4 separate regions of the Homo sapiens genome follow, and all the other regions are linked to region 4. Evidence: promoter capture Hi-C in human tissues and cell types (Jung and others, 2019). All regions are on one chromosome and are shown on one strand. Each heading gives the region's core, a stretch centred on a gene start or on the middle of the fragment in contact. The rest is flanking DNA. Distances are from core to core; before and after follow the strand shown. Region 1 overlaps ZC3H18 (zinc finger CCCH-type containing 18). Region 2 holds the start of IL17C (interleukin 17C). Region 3 overlaps ZC3H18 (zinc finger CCCH-type containing 18). Region 4 holds the start of PIEZO1 (piezo type mechanosensitive ion channel component 1 (Er blood group)).

Region 1 (3,460 bases), core at 574-3,073, 160 kb after region 4:
ACCTGAGAAACAAAGGGTCCTAAGGGGAAAAAAGGCCACTCACAAAACCCATCACCCCATGGACTTGGGTGATGTCCATGGCCCTTGGCTCAGTGTCTGTTACTCAGGGGAACACCCAGATTTCTCCTGAACCAGAATGGCAGTTACTTTCTGTGAGTGTCATTACTTACTTAATTTCCATCTTTCCAACTACGCTGTCAGCTCTAGGAGGGACAGGGATGGTGTCTGCCGTGTCTAATACTATCTCTAGTGCTGATATACTAGTAGGTTCATAATAAATATTTATGAAATAAGCCCAGGTATGGTGGCACACGCCTGCAATCCCAGCACTTTGCGAGGACGAGGCGGGTGGATTACTTGAGGTCGGGAGTTCCAGATCAGCCTGGCCAATATGGTGAAACCTGTCTCTATTAAAAATACAAAAATTAGGCTGGGCGCGATGGCTCATGCCTGTAATCCCAGCACTTTGGGAGGCTGAGGTGGGCGGATCATGAGGTCAGGAGTTCGAGACCAGCCTGGCCAACATGGTGAAACTCCATGTCTACTAAGAATACAAAAATTAGGCCGGCTGCGGTGGCTCACCTGTAATCCCAGCACTTTGGGAGGCCGAGGCGGGCGAATCACGAGGTCAAGAGATCGAGACCATCCTGGCTAACATGGTGAAACCCCATCTCTACTAAAAATATATAAAATTAGCCAGGCGTGGTGGCAGGCGCCTGTAGTCCCAGCTACTTGGGGGGCTGAGGCAGAAGAATGGCGTGAACCCGGGAGGTGGAGCTTGCAGTGAGCCGAGATCGCGCCATTGCACTCCAGCCTGGGCGACAGAGCGAGACTCTGTCTCAAAAAAAAAAAAATAAAAACAAAAACAAAAATTAGTTGGATGTGGTGGCGGGCGCCTGTAATCCCAGCTACTTGGGAAGCTGAGGCAGGAGAATTGCTTGAAACTGGGAGGCGGAGGTTGTAGTGAGCTGAGACTGCGCCACTGCCCTCCAATCTGGGCGACAGAGCAAGACTTCGTCTCAAAACAAAACAAAACAAAAAACAAAAAAATTAGCTGGGTGTGGTAACACGTGCCTGTAATCCCAGCTACTGGGGAGCCTGAGGGCAGGAGAATGGTTTGAACCCAGGAGGCAGAGATTGCAGTGAGCTGAGACTGCGCCACTGCACTCCAAACTGGGCAACAGAGTGAGACTCCATTATAAAAAACAAACAAAAAAACCCAAACACAAATGATATTAAACTGACCCCTTATATATAAATCTTTATCTGACTTTTTAAAGGGTAAACTCCTGAGCAATGGAATTAATGGGTCAAAGGAGATACACATTTTACAGGTTCTTGGTGGGTTATCAGATATTTTTTCCTCATTCAGCCAGCAGTGTGCGGTGCCGAACCTGGGCTCGGTGTCACCACTAAGAACCACAACCACCACCCAGACACAAACTAACCCAAAATCCTGGCAATTGTATAAGCAGAACGTGGCTTTTTTTTTTTTTTTCTTTTTTAGAGACAGGGTCTTGCTCTGTTACCCATGTGGGCTGGAGTGTGGTGGCATAATCACTGCAGCCTTGAGCTTCCAGGCTGAAGGGATCCTCCCACCTCAGCCTCTTGAGTAGCCAGGACTGCAGGTGTGCACCACCACACCCAGGTCATTAAACATTGATTTGAGGTCTCCCTATGTTGCCCAGGCTGGTCTCGAATTTCTGGCCTCAAGTGATCCTCCCACCCTGGCCTCCCAGAGTGCTGGGGTTATAAGCTTGAGCCGCCATGCCTGGCCTGCAAACACATTTTAAAAAGCTGTTTTAGTTCCTGTGTTACTGTGAGTGGGATTCTCTGCCCTACGTCTTGCTCACCTCTGGCTCTGCTGTGGTAGCATCTGCTTACGTCACACGACAACACATGAAACCACCAAAACCATCAATGTTTATGTTTTCAGAGCTTGTTTAACCAACCGGCTGGCAAACATGCCTGCTATCTGCTGAGAATGCAGGATGGGGGCAGCTCCCCACTTAACACTGTCCTAAGGACACGGACACGCGACATCACAGCTTCAGCTCCTGTACGTCAGCCCAAAACCCCAAGAGCTATTGCCACATCTGGGTGTCTCCTGGAAAAGTAATCCAGGAAGGAAGTAAACACCTGTCTGATGATCCTCCCTGTCACAGGCTACTAGAGAGCTACTTTCACCTTTATACTTCCTGTATAACTCTCATCCTAACACCCCAAGAGGAAAGGGAGCACCAATAAGTCACAGGGACAGCGCGGCCCTTCCAACACAGGGAGAGGGAACGGGCAGAAGTCAAGGCGTGGTCAGGACCACCTCTTCTTCGGGTGAAGCTGTAACAGCATGTGGAGTCCTAGCTGCGGTGAGGGGGAAGGAAAAACAGCGTCTGCTTGCCCCCTGCCACGGCATGGAAATAAAACCAGCTGAGGTCCAGAGAGGCGGGCAGTGCAGGCCTCCACAATCTCAGGGCAGCTGGTGCTTGCCCCCCAGAAAGAGCTGCTCATTCCCTCTGGAGACAATGATACCGAATTTCAAAATGAAGATGGCCAGAGGCAGGCCCAGCAGGGGTCAGTGAGGTCTCTCCTTCTCTGGGCCAGGGCTGTGGACGGGCCTGCACCATCTCGTCACTGCACAGCGCGCCCTCCGCTGCCGCCGGCCGCACCACCTTCCTTCTGAAGCAGCTGCTTCCAGGCCCATGGAGCAAGGAGGTCCTATCCAGCAAGTCCATGTTACCACGTGTGGGACGTGGTGGTACTGATTTTAACCAGGATGCAGATAACCATTTTTTTCCTTTTTTCTTTTTTTTGAGACAGAGCCTCGCTCTGTTGCCCAGGCTGGAGTACGGTGGTGCGATCTTGGCTCACTGCAAGCTCTGCCTCATGCCATTCTCCTGCCTCAGCCTCCCATTGGACATTATCTCCACTGCACTTTGATAGCGAGTCTCCGGGCACCAAGTCTGCGGCAGAAAGCAAGGCTGAGCACTGGCTTTCTACAGCCCAGGGAACCGAGGCATGTGCCCTTCTCTCAGCAAAGAATGTCACCCCAGGGGACATCCTGATTAGACTTGGAAAAACCAGGCAGATACAAAATAAACAAAACCAAAACACACAACATGGGTGCCCCAGGACAGCCCACCGAGTGCGGCTCAGCTCCTTCACAAGTAGGGGCCTGCGCAGAGGGAGCCAGTGTGGGCTGAGAACGCTCGCAAGGGATGGCCCAGTCAGGAAGGCCCACCTCCAAGCTGGGCCAGGACAGATCTGGAATTTGCATGAACACTTCCAACCGCAGGGGAGAACCCTCCAGATGACCTCTGACTGAGGAAGTAGCCTTTCCCGCAGCACAAGGCCCGCGCTATCATCTGGCCCCCATTCCCCGTTGAAGGCCACAGGAGACTCTCTAAGGGGCAAAGGTCAGCTCCACCACCAATGCAAACATGCCAGAGGCAGACAAAACCAA
Region 2 (3,322 bases), core at 381-2,880, 150 kb after region 4:
ACACGGGGAATGCCCAGACCCCAAGGGTAGTGTTGGGGGAGGCATATAAATAACAATAAATACACATAAATAGGGGGTGCCCTCTGGGGAGCACACGTGTCCAGTCTAGGGGCCCCACGGCCTCGGCGGTCACACTGAACGGGGCAGCACGCAGGTGCAGCCGACGGGGACGTGGATGAACTCGGTGTGGAAGGCAAAGGCCCCAGGTGTGGGGAGCCCCGAGCCGTCGCGGGAGCAGGGCCGGCGGCGCAGCACCAGCAGGCTCTGGAGCAGCCGCACGGAGTTGAGCGCAGCTGTCTCGCGGCCCGTCCGTGCATCGATACAGCCTCTGCACAGGCACTCGGCGAAGGCCAGCTTCTGTGGATAGCGGTCCTCATCCGTGTCCACACTGCGGGACGGGGTGCACAGTGAGTCTCTGGCCCTACCCTGTCCTCCTGGAGGCCCCTCTCCCCTCAGGGCCCCTCTCCGTGTACTCAGGATAGGACCTGAGGCAGCGAGGGCTGAGCCACACGGGCTTGGGGTGCAGTCGGGCTCACATGTGGTGGTAATCCACGTCTCCCCAGGGCCCTCCAAGAGCACAGAGCAGGGTCCGGAGGCCTCTAGGAGCCTCCCTTCCACTTCATCACCCAGCCCCACTTCTGCAGGAGCTCAGGTGACGGGCCCAGAATTTCCCCAGGGGACCCTGGCCACCTAGGACAGTGGGAGGCAGGGCACGGCCAGCCGCAAGCAGCAGCTCAGCCGTCCAGGTCAGGAGGGCCGGAGGGAGGGAGCTCAGGTGGCCACGCCCACTTGACAGGTGAGAACCACCAAGGCCCAGAGAGCTCTCCGGGCAGTCAGGGCCCCGCCAGGGGAGGGGCAGCCCCACGCCACAGCGGAATCCCCAGGTCCTCACCGGTATCTCCAGGGTGAGATGGAGCGCTGGTGGGTGTCTGCCTCCAACACCTCCTCCGGCCGCAGCACCGGGCACTGGGTCGTAGCTGAGGGCCTCTCGTGCCTCCCCCTGTGGCTTGCTGCCTCCAGGCTGGACACCAGGGCTACAGGCAAAGCCTGCCCCCACTTGGCACCTCGAGCCAGCAGGTGTGGGGGGGCCTGGCCGAGGGGCAGTTCCTCAGCCGAGTAGCAGTGTGGGGTACCGTGACTGTGGGGGTGCCCCCTGAGGGAGGGGTCATGGTGGGCCAGGCATGTGTGCAGCCAGGTCAGAAACAGGAGGCCGGGGAGGAGCTGGTGAAACAGGCAGGTGGGTGGTTAGGAGGTGCCCAGGGCAGGGGGCACCTCACTTCCACCTCAGCTTTCCTTGTTCCCAGCGGAAAGATGGAGTACAGCCCTCCCTCTATAGATGGGGAAACTGAAGCCCAGAGAGGCTAGCCCTTCAGCCCAAGACACCCAGCATGCCAGCGCTCCGAGGATCTGCAGCTGCCTCCCCTACCCCCAGACTGAGGGGTTTCCCAGACCCCATCCCAACACCCTCCTCCCAGGCTCAGAGAACCCCAGCCCTTCCATGCCAGGCTGCACATCCAAGCAGCATCCATCCGAGCGGCATGTGGAGAGGCTCACCGTCATGGTGGCGGCAGCGGGGCAGGCTGGGCTTGGAGCGGCCTGCACACCTGGCGGCAATCCCACAGGTGCACCTGGCCATGCACCTGGCAGCAGCCGCTCTTATACCTGAGGCCACACCTGGGGGAAATTCCGGCACCACTTCCTCCTCGGGAAGTGCCCAGCTGGGGCGCTTCTTCCTTCTCTGGTCCCCGCAGCCCCCGCCTGCTGTGCATCAGGACACAGACATGCAAGGAGGCCCCGGGAGGCGCTGTCCTGTTACCCCCCTCCCCCGAGAGAGACTCCGCCCAACCTGAGCACCTACACAGGGTGCTGCCTTGTCTGACATTCTCAAACTTTTTTTTTTTTTTTGAGACAGGGTCTTGCTGTCACCCGAGCTGGAGGGAAATGGTGCTGTCCCAGCTCACTGCAACCTCCACATCCCAGGTTCAAGCGATTCTCCTGCCTCAGGCTTCCGAGTAGCTGGGATTACAGGCACCCCCCACCATGCCTGGCTAATTTTTGTATTTTTAGTACAGACAGGGTTTTGCCATATCGGCCAGGCTGGTCTGAGGCTCCTGACCTCAAGTGATCTGCTCGCCTTGGCCTCCCAAAGTGCTGGGATTACAGGAGTGAGCCACTGCGCCCAGCCTTGAACCTCCTATAAGAGGGTTTCTGCTTGCGTATCCGTCAGCACCTTGCTGATTCAACTTGTAGGTTTTCATCTGGACCTGATGGTGGCGGGGCGCTTTTGCACCCTATACAGTTCTTCTCCGTCTGCTGCTGGTGGGTGCCAAGGGTGGTTCAGTGTTTTAGCTGAGATGGTCAAGATCAGGTGAGGCTCACGTGCCCCCTTCACCCAGGTGGGAGAGGTCCCGGAGATGGGGGAGGCAGGCACGTCTTCAGGTCTCTGTTGGGTTTCTGTGTTGTTTTTTTTTTTGTTGTTTTTTTGAGGCGGAGTCTGACTCTGTCGCCCAGGCGGGGAGTACAGTGGTGCGATCTCGGCTCACTACAAGCTCAGCTTCCTGGGTTCACGCCATTCTCCTGCCTCAGCCTGCCGGGTAGCTGGGACTACAGGCGCCCGCCACCACACCTGGCTAATTTTTTTGTATTTTTAGTAGAGACGGGGTTTCACCATGTTAGCCAGGATGGTCTCGATCTCCTGACCTCGTGATCTGCCCACCTCGGCCTCGCAAAGTGCTGGGATCACAGGCATGAGTCACTGCACCCGGCCTGGGCTTCTGTGGTTTTATTGAGAAAAAAGTTCAAGCTAAAAAGTCTGAGTTGGAGGTGTGAGGAGTGAGGTGTGAGGTGTGAATGAGGCATGAGGCGTGAGGCGTGAGGTGTGAGGTGTGACCAGCACACACAGGAAGCTTTATGTAAGCGGGGCCGGGAGCTGCCTTTGGCCTCCTTGATCGGTGAGGCTGGCTGGGGGTGGGGGCGCTGGAGGTGCCTTTGTTTCCCCGGAAAGGGACAGCTGCAGCCAGAACTTGGGAAGGTTTGAATGCCGGGGGTTTGACGTCATCCTGAGGAGGGTTGTCCTGGAGTCCCCAGGGCCCCTGGCCACATCAGAGGTGGGGGAATCTGTCCGCCCTGGTCCCCTCAGCTTCGGGGTGAGGGCGGGAGGGAGGGTGCTTGTGTGCCCCCAGCCTTTCCTCCCCTGCCGCGGTGCAGATGTGTTCCACGGAGGTGTCCTCTAAGCTGAAAACCTCAGTCTCTCTGAACACAAAAGCTCCCAAGTCGGGTGGGGCTGAGGCAGCACTGGGACCCCTGGGCCCTCCAGCACCTC
Region 3 (3,486 bases), core at 590-3,089, 190 kb after region 4:
CAAAAAAAAACAGAGAACAGAGTAATGGTGAGGACGTGGAGAAACTGGAAGCCCCCACACCACTGGTGGGAAAGTAAAATGGCACAGCCACTGTGGAAGACAGCTTGGCGGCTCCTCAAAACATGAAACATACAACCACCAGGTCATCAGCAACTCCACTGCCAGCGGCTCCGCAAAAGATGAAACACACAACCACCAGGTCATCAGCAACTCCGCTGCCAGCGGTTCCTCAAAAGATGAAACATACAACCACCAGGTCATCAGAAACTCCGCTGCCAGCGGTTCCTCAAAAGATGAAACACACAACCACCAGGTCATCAGCAACTCCACTGCCAGCGGTTCCTCAAAAGATGAAACACACAACCACCACGTCATCAGAAACTCCGCTGCCAGCAGTTCCACAAAAGATGAAACACACAACCACCAGGTCATCAGCAACTCCACTGCCAGGCACATGCGAAAGAGCTGAAAGCAGGGTCTGAAGAGATTTTTACGCCCACGTTCACAGCAGCTCTATTCACAATTGCCTAGAGGTGGAAACCACCCAAGTGTCCACCCACAGATGAGGGAAACACCCAATGCAGCTGCTCCACACTAACAAATATTGGTCAATCTTTTTTTTTTTTTTTGGAGACGGAGTCTCGTTCTGTTGCCCAGGCTGGAGTGCAGTGGTGTGATCTTGGCTCACTGCAACCTCCACCTACTGGGTTCAAGCGATTCTCCTGCTTTGGCCTCCCAAATAGCTGGAATTAGAGGTGTGCTCTACCACCCCCAGCTAATTTTGTATTTTTAGTAGAGACAGGGTTTCACCATGTTGAGCAGTCTGGTCTCGAACTCCTAACCTTGAGTGATCCACCCACCTCGGCCTCCCAAAGTGCTATGATTACAGGCATCAGCCACCGCACCTATTATTCAGTCTTAAAAAGACAGAAGGCCAGGTGCAGTGACTCACGCCTGTAATCCCAGCACTTTGGGAGGCCGAGGAGGGCAGATCACGAGGTCAGGAGATCGGGACCATCCTGGCTAACACAGTGAAACTCCGTCTCTACCAAAAACTACAAAAATTACCTGGGCGTGGTGGCGGGCGCCTGTAGTTCCAACTACTCAGGAGGCTGAGGCAGGAGAATGGCGTGAACCCAGGAGGCAGAGCTTGCAGTGAGCCGAGATGGTGCCACTGCACTCCAGCCTGGGTGACAGAGCAAGACTCCATCTCAAAAAAAAAAAAAAAAAGTATTCCACCACAATTTTAAAAAATTAGGGGGAGCACAGCCAAGGAGATCAGACCCAAAAAATGGACTGGGATGCTTGTTCACTGAGGGATAAATCAGAAGCCCAAAGTAGGGGCCGGGTGTGGTGGCTCACACCTGTAATCCCAGCACTCTGGGAGGCTGAGGTGAGCGGATCACCTGAGGTCAGGGGTTCGAGACCAGCCTGGCCAACATGATGAAACCCCATGTCTGCTAAAAATACAAAAATGAGTTGGGGGTGGTGGCAGATGCCTGTAATCGCAGCTACTCGGGAGTCTGAGACAGAAGAATAGCTTGAACCCAGGTGGAGGTTCCAACGAGCCGAGATCTCACCATTGCACTCCAGCCCGGGTGACAGAGCGAGACACTGTCTCAAAAAAAAAAAAAAAAGAAATAAAGAAACCCAAAGTGGGACACAGTTTAAAGAAGATGCTACTTACTCCTCTGTGGACAGAACTTTGTGTCCTGATGATCCAACACAGGCCCACGAGAGATAAAAACATCCCATGAAGAAGTACAGCTCCAGTTGTAGTGTATGTGCTGTGGAGCCGGGCAGGCGTACACAAAGCACTGATCTCTAAAATGTGAGCAAGGTGTGTTCCCAGTGCATTTTGCTGTCATTTGGTCACAAATCTCAATGTGTCCACTAAGCGATTAAATGATTAATCTCTATATCACAACGTGTCGGAGATAAAGCTAAGAGAGGCCTGAGCAGTGGCTCATGCCTGTCATCCCCATACTCTGGGAGGCTGAGGTGGAAGGATTGCTTGAGCCTAGTATTTGAGACCAGCCTGAGCAATATAGTGAGATCCCATCTCTACAAGTAATTTAAAAAAGAAAGATGAGCTCTTGCAATGTTGCCCAGGCTGGTCTCTAACTCCTGGGCTCAAGTGATCCTCCCCATTCAGCTTCCCAAAGTGCTAGGATTCCAGGTATGAGCTACCATGCCCAGCCACCGACTTTTTTCTAAGAAAAGAATTTTCTAATTGTGACACAATTCACATAACATAAAATACTCCCATTTAATGTGTACAATTCACTGGTTTGCAGTATATTCACAAAGTTGTGTAAGCATCACCACTAGCTAGTTCTAGAACATTCCATCACCCCAAAGAGGAAATCCTGTACTCACTAGCTATCACTCTCCACCCCCAGTCCAGGCAACGAGGAATCAATCTACTTTCCGTCTCTGTGGATCTGTGGCCTTCTGTGCTCCCTTCTGTCACTCAGCACGTCTTTAAGGCTCGTCCACATTGTGGCATGAGTCACAATCTACTTTCTGTCTCTGTGGATCTGTGGCCTTCCGTGCTCCCTTCTGTCACTCAGCACGTCTTCAAGGCTCGTCCACGTTGCGGCGTGAGTCACAATCTGCTTTCTGTCTCTGTGGACCTGTGGCCTTCTGTGCTCCCTTCTGTCACTCAGCACGTCTTCAAAGTTTGTCCACATTGTGGCATGAGCCAGTGCTTCATTCCCTTTATGGCCAAGTAGCATTCCACTGCATGGACAGGCCACACTTGTTTATCCATTCCTCACTTTTTGGGTACCTGGGTTGTTTCTCTTTGGTTACTGGAAATTATGCTGCTGTGAACATTAATGCACAAGCTTTCACATAAATGCACACGTCCGTTTCTCTTGGCTGCATACCTGCAGTGGAACTGCTGGGTCATACAGTGGGTACCCGGGAGCTTCTGAGGAACTGTTTCCTAAAGCAGCTGCACCGTTTTACCCTCTCACGAGCAGTGAATGAGGGCTCCAACATCTCCATATCCTTGCCAACACAACAAACTTCATTTTGTTTTTAAAATAACTTGTTGTTATTGGAGAGATCATAAACTGAAGAATTTCAATTTCATATAAACTGCAGGTAGGCAGAAACATTTAAGTCCAAATTTCTCATAACAAAGCAGCAGCAGAAGACATGATCTAGAAAACGGTAAGAATCAGCCACTTCCTCTGTACCGTATCACCTCACTCTACAGAATAAAAACACTTCTGAAATGAGTTATTGATAACACCTGATTAAGCCGCAAAAATGCTGCCTTATCTAGCTTCTGACTTTTTTTTTTTCAAGAGACTGAGTCTCACTGTCGCCCAGGCTGGAGTACAGTGGCACGATCATGGCACAACTGCAGCCTCAACTTCCCAGGCTCAAGTGATCTGCCCCTGTCAGCCCCCACCCCCCACGTAGCTGGGACTACACATGCGTGCCACCAAACCCTGCTAAGTTTTCATTTTTTGT
Region 4 (3,076 bases), core at 226-2,725:
TCCCAGGTTCAAGCGATTTTCCTGCCTCGGCCTCCTGAGTAGTTGGGAATACAGGCGCCTGCCATCACGCCCGGCTAATTTTTGTATATTTATTTATTTATTTATTTATTTATTTATTTATTTATTGAGACGGAGTCTGGCTCTGTCGCCCAGGCTGGAGTGCAGTGGCGCTATCTCGGCTCACTGCAAGCTCCGCCTCCTGGGTTGATGCCATTCTCCTGCCTCAGCCTCCCGAGTAGTTGGGACTACAGGAGCCCGCCACCACGCCCGGCTAATTTTTTATGTTTTTAGTAGAGATGGGTTTTCACCGTGTTAGCCAGGATGGTCTCGATCTCCTGACCTGGTGATCCACCCGCCTCGGCCTCCCAAAGTGCTGGGATTACAGGCGTGAGCCACCGCGCCCGGCCTAATTTTTGTATTTTTAGTAGAGACGGGGTTTCACCATGTTGGCCAGGCTGGTCTCGAACTCCTGACGTCAAGTGATCCCCCGACCCCCTACCCCCTTGCCTCAGCCCCGCAAAGTGCTGGGATTACAGGCCTGAGCCACTGCCCCGCCATCTTTTTTTTTTTTTTTTTTTTTTGAGCTGGAGGGTGTGGGCTTGTGCTGGGCTCTCATGAGTTGCCAGTGCCTTGAGGCTCAGTGGCCACAGTCCCCCCAGCCCCACTCCCTGCCTTACGCAGCTGAGTTTGAGAGCCATGAACTGAGCCCAATTAAACGGTGTAGAGCCCTTTGCCCTCTTTCTGTGCCCATCTCAAGGGCAGACGAAGGCCAAACTGACGTGGCCTGGGTGAGGGTCCCGAACACCCTGGACTCAGACCCTACCTCTCCGTGGCAGGGCGCCGCGGCAGCAGGTGCACAGGCCGTGGCTCTCACTCTCACCGTCTCACGCCAGAGCGACCCGGGCAAAGCCGCGCGCGGTGGCCGGCGTGGCTGGGAGCAGCCCCCGAGCCCCCGTCAGACCAACGCGGATCGCGGCACTGCTGCGACCCGAGCATCCCGCGTGCTCCCTCCGGGACCACTAGGCCCGGCCGCCGCGGGAACTCCGAGCCTCCCCACGGTCCCCAGGGGGCGCTGCGTGCTCGCGCCTCGGGGAGCAAAGCGAAAGTCGCTCGGGCACGCGGGGTGCAGTTGCGCGTGGGGCGCTGCCTGGGGGAGCCAGAGGCCCCGGGACCCCTTATGTAGCGCCCGGGCCCCAGCCGCAGCCCACCCAGCGAGAAGCGCCCCTGCCCACCGCCGCGCACGCTCGGAGCCGCGGGGCCAAGACTGCGGGAGGGGAGGGGTCCGCTCCGGGCCAGCGCCAGTCGGGGGTCTCCAGGCCCCAACGCACCAGGGCGGGCCGGAGGCGGGACGGGCCGCGCGGGACAGCGGAGGGGGTGCCTGGGCGCGCCGGGCCGTCGGGGAAGCGCGGAGGCGGGCACGCCGGGGAGGGCGGGAGGGGGCCGAGCTTATAAAGGCCCGCGGGCGGAGGAGGGCGGGAGCCGCCGTCCGGCCCAGCTCGGCCCCAGTGAGCCGAGCGCTGCGCTCCGCCGAGGGGCAGGGCGGTCGCCTGAGCGAGCGCGGGCCCGGGACGTCGGCACCGGCGGGGCGGCCGAAGGAGAAGGAGGAAGAGGAGAAGGCGGCGCGCGGGTCCCCGCGGGTCAGCCATGGCGCGCCGGCCCCGGGGCCCCCGCACCGCCCCATAGCGCCGCGGCGTCCGCTCGGTCTGGGCCGGGCCCTGGGCCCTCCAGCCATGGAGCCGCACGTGCTCGGCGCGGTCCTGTACTGGCTGCTGCTGCCCTGCGCGCTGCTGGCTGGTGAGTGGGGGGCGGGCGCCTGGGGGCGACGGGAGGGGGCTGCGTCTCGGCTCCCCACGGCCTGGACACCGGACGACGCCGGCCGGGGCGAGGGCTGCGGGCGAGCGGGCGCGGAAATTCCCAGGGACGCGCGACCCGGGCGCCCGCATTCCTGAAGCATGAGCGCGCCAGGCGGCGGCGGGGCTCCTGTCCCAGGGCCGGGCTGGAAGGGCGGCGGCGGCTGGGGGAGACGGCACCGCGTGCCCACGGGGGCGGTCGAGCGAGCGCCGGGCATAGCGCGGCTGGCGTCTCCGCCGGGGCGCTGCGGAGAGGAGGCCGCCGGGCGAGGCGGTGTTTGCCCCGGTGGGAAGGGCCGCGGCGGTGGTGGGGGGAGCACGAATCTCTTTTTCTCTTTCGGGTTTAAAAAAAAAAGCGCAAAGTTGCATCAGGACTTCCTGACAATCTGGGAGAAGGCGGGCTTCCTGCCTGGAGCTGTTTAATTTGGAGCTTCCCGAGCCCAACGAACGTCCGTGCCCAGGGCCCAGCCCCGCTCACCGCTGCACCCCCCTCTGCCGGACTGAGGCGGTCCCACACTTTGGAAAAAAATAGTGTGGGTTCCTCCCTGGTCCTCCCTTGCCCTACTGGGCTCAGTTTCGCAGGGGCGGGGGCCGGCCTCTGCCCTGGTCTGGGGGAGGGGACACCCCCGGAGGCTGTGGCCTGGTGTCAGGGCGGGGCAGGGGTCCCCAGTCCTGGCATCTGTGTTCCCTGCTTGCCGGGCAGTGGTGCCCCTTTCGCGAAGCACACCCGGGTGGCTTGGTGCTGCACGGCCTGGCACCCCTACCCTTCCCCGACCCTGGCCTAGCCGGGACCCAGGGTCCGCGCCCTCCGCCCGGGGGCTCCCCACGTGTGATTGATCTGGGAAGCAGTCGGATGGAATTAACCCACGGACAAGTGGGACGGTTTGCATTGGGAGTCCGCCATGGACACGGCAGGTGGGGCCTTTTGATTGTAAAAGCCCTTTCGGAGCCCTTGCCTCGCTCCAGGTGGGAGCTCGCCCAGCGCTAGCTTTGGGGATCTAGAGCCGCCTGCCTGAGGCTCCCAGACAGACTGCGTTTTGATCGGTCGCACAGAAAGGTGGTGAAACTTGGGGAAGATTTTCTAGACAGGAATCAATGAAAACCATTGAGGCTGGAGAGGAGAGGTTTTGAGCAACTCTCTTCAGTGCGGTCAGCCCTGTGTGGACTGGGCAGCCTGGGACCTGCTCCCAGTGCAGGGTCAGATGGGCCGTAAACAGGGCCCGGCT

What was found. The method cuts DNA at HindIII sites, captures the fragments that hold promoters and counts their contacts. A contact is called where the count stands out against the background at its distance.
Region 1: a contact is called between a fragment that was not itself captured here and the fragment with the promoter of PIEZO1 in region 4, in 3 of the 25 tissues and cell types used here (lymphoblastoid cells, spleen and thymus).
Region 2: a contact is called between the fragment with the promoter of IL17C here and the fragment with the promoter of PIEZO1 in region 4, in 5 of the 25 tissues and cell types used here (liver, lymphoblastoid cells, mesenchymal stem cells and 2 more).
Region 3: a contact is called between a fragment that was not itself captured here and the fragment with the promoter of PIEZO1 in region 4, in 1 of the 25 tissues and cell types used here (lymphoblastoid cells).

The regions. Positions count from the first base shown.
Region 1 is chr16:88,618,624-88,622,083 of GRCh38, reverse strand. The region is part of intron 8 of ZC3H18 (zinc finger CCCH-type containing 18); the gene reads right to left. Among named protein-coding and RNA genes, the nearest start is that of IL17C, 18 kb to the left of the region's middle. The HindIII fragment of the contact is 5,227 bases long and covers 1-3,460 here.
Region 2 is chr16:88,636,880-88,640,201 of GRCh38, reverse strand. IL17C (interleukin 17C) reads right to left here and starts at 1,630. Exons shown (of 3, transcript NM_013278.4): 1 at 1,555-1,630; 2 at 893-1,221; 3 at 1-388. The coding sequence starts at 1,560. The coding sequence ends at 130. It overlaps LOC124903755 (a long non-coding RNA gene), which reads right to left. Exons shown (of 2, transcript XR_007065181.1): 2 at 2,768-3,322. The HindIII fragment of the contact is 16,303 bases long and covers 1-3,322 here.
Region 3 is chr16:88,588,716-88,592,201 of GRCh38, reverse strand. The region is part of intron 3 of ZC3H18 (zinc finger CCCH-type containing 18); the gene reads right to left. Among named protein-coding and RNA genes, the nearest start is that of ZC3H18, 20 kb to the right of the region's middle. RefSeq lists enhancers at 242-491, 2,387-2,681. The HindIII fragment of the contact is 7,017 bases long and covers 1-3,486 here.
Region 4 is chr16:88,783,619-88,786,694 of GRCh38, reverse strand. It overlaps PIEZO1 (piezo type mechanosensitive ion channel component 1 (Er blood group)), which reads left to right and starts at 1,475. Exons shown (of 51, transcript NM_001142864.4): 1 at 1,475-1,794. The coding sequence starts at 1,731. RefSeq lists silencers at 977-1,306, 1,347-1,826, 2,327-2,646 and an enhancer at 1,331-2,244. The HindIII fragment of the contact is 3,328 bases long and covers 1,282-3,076 here.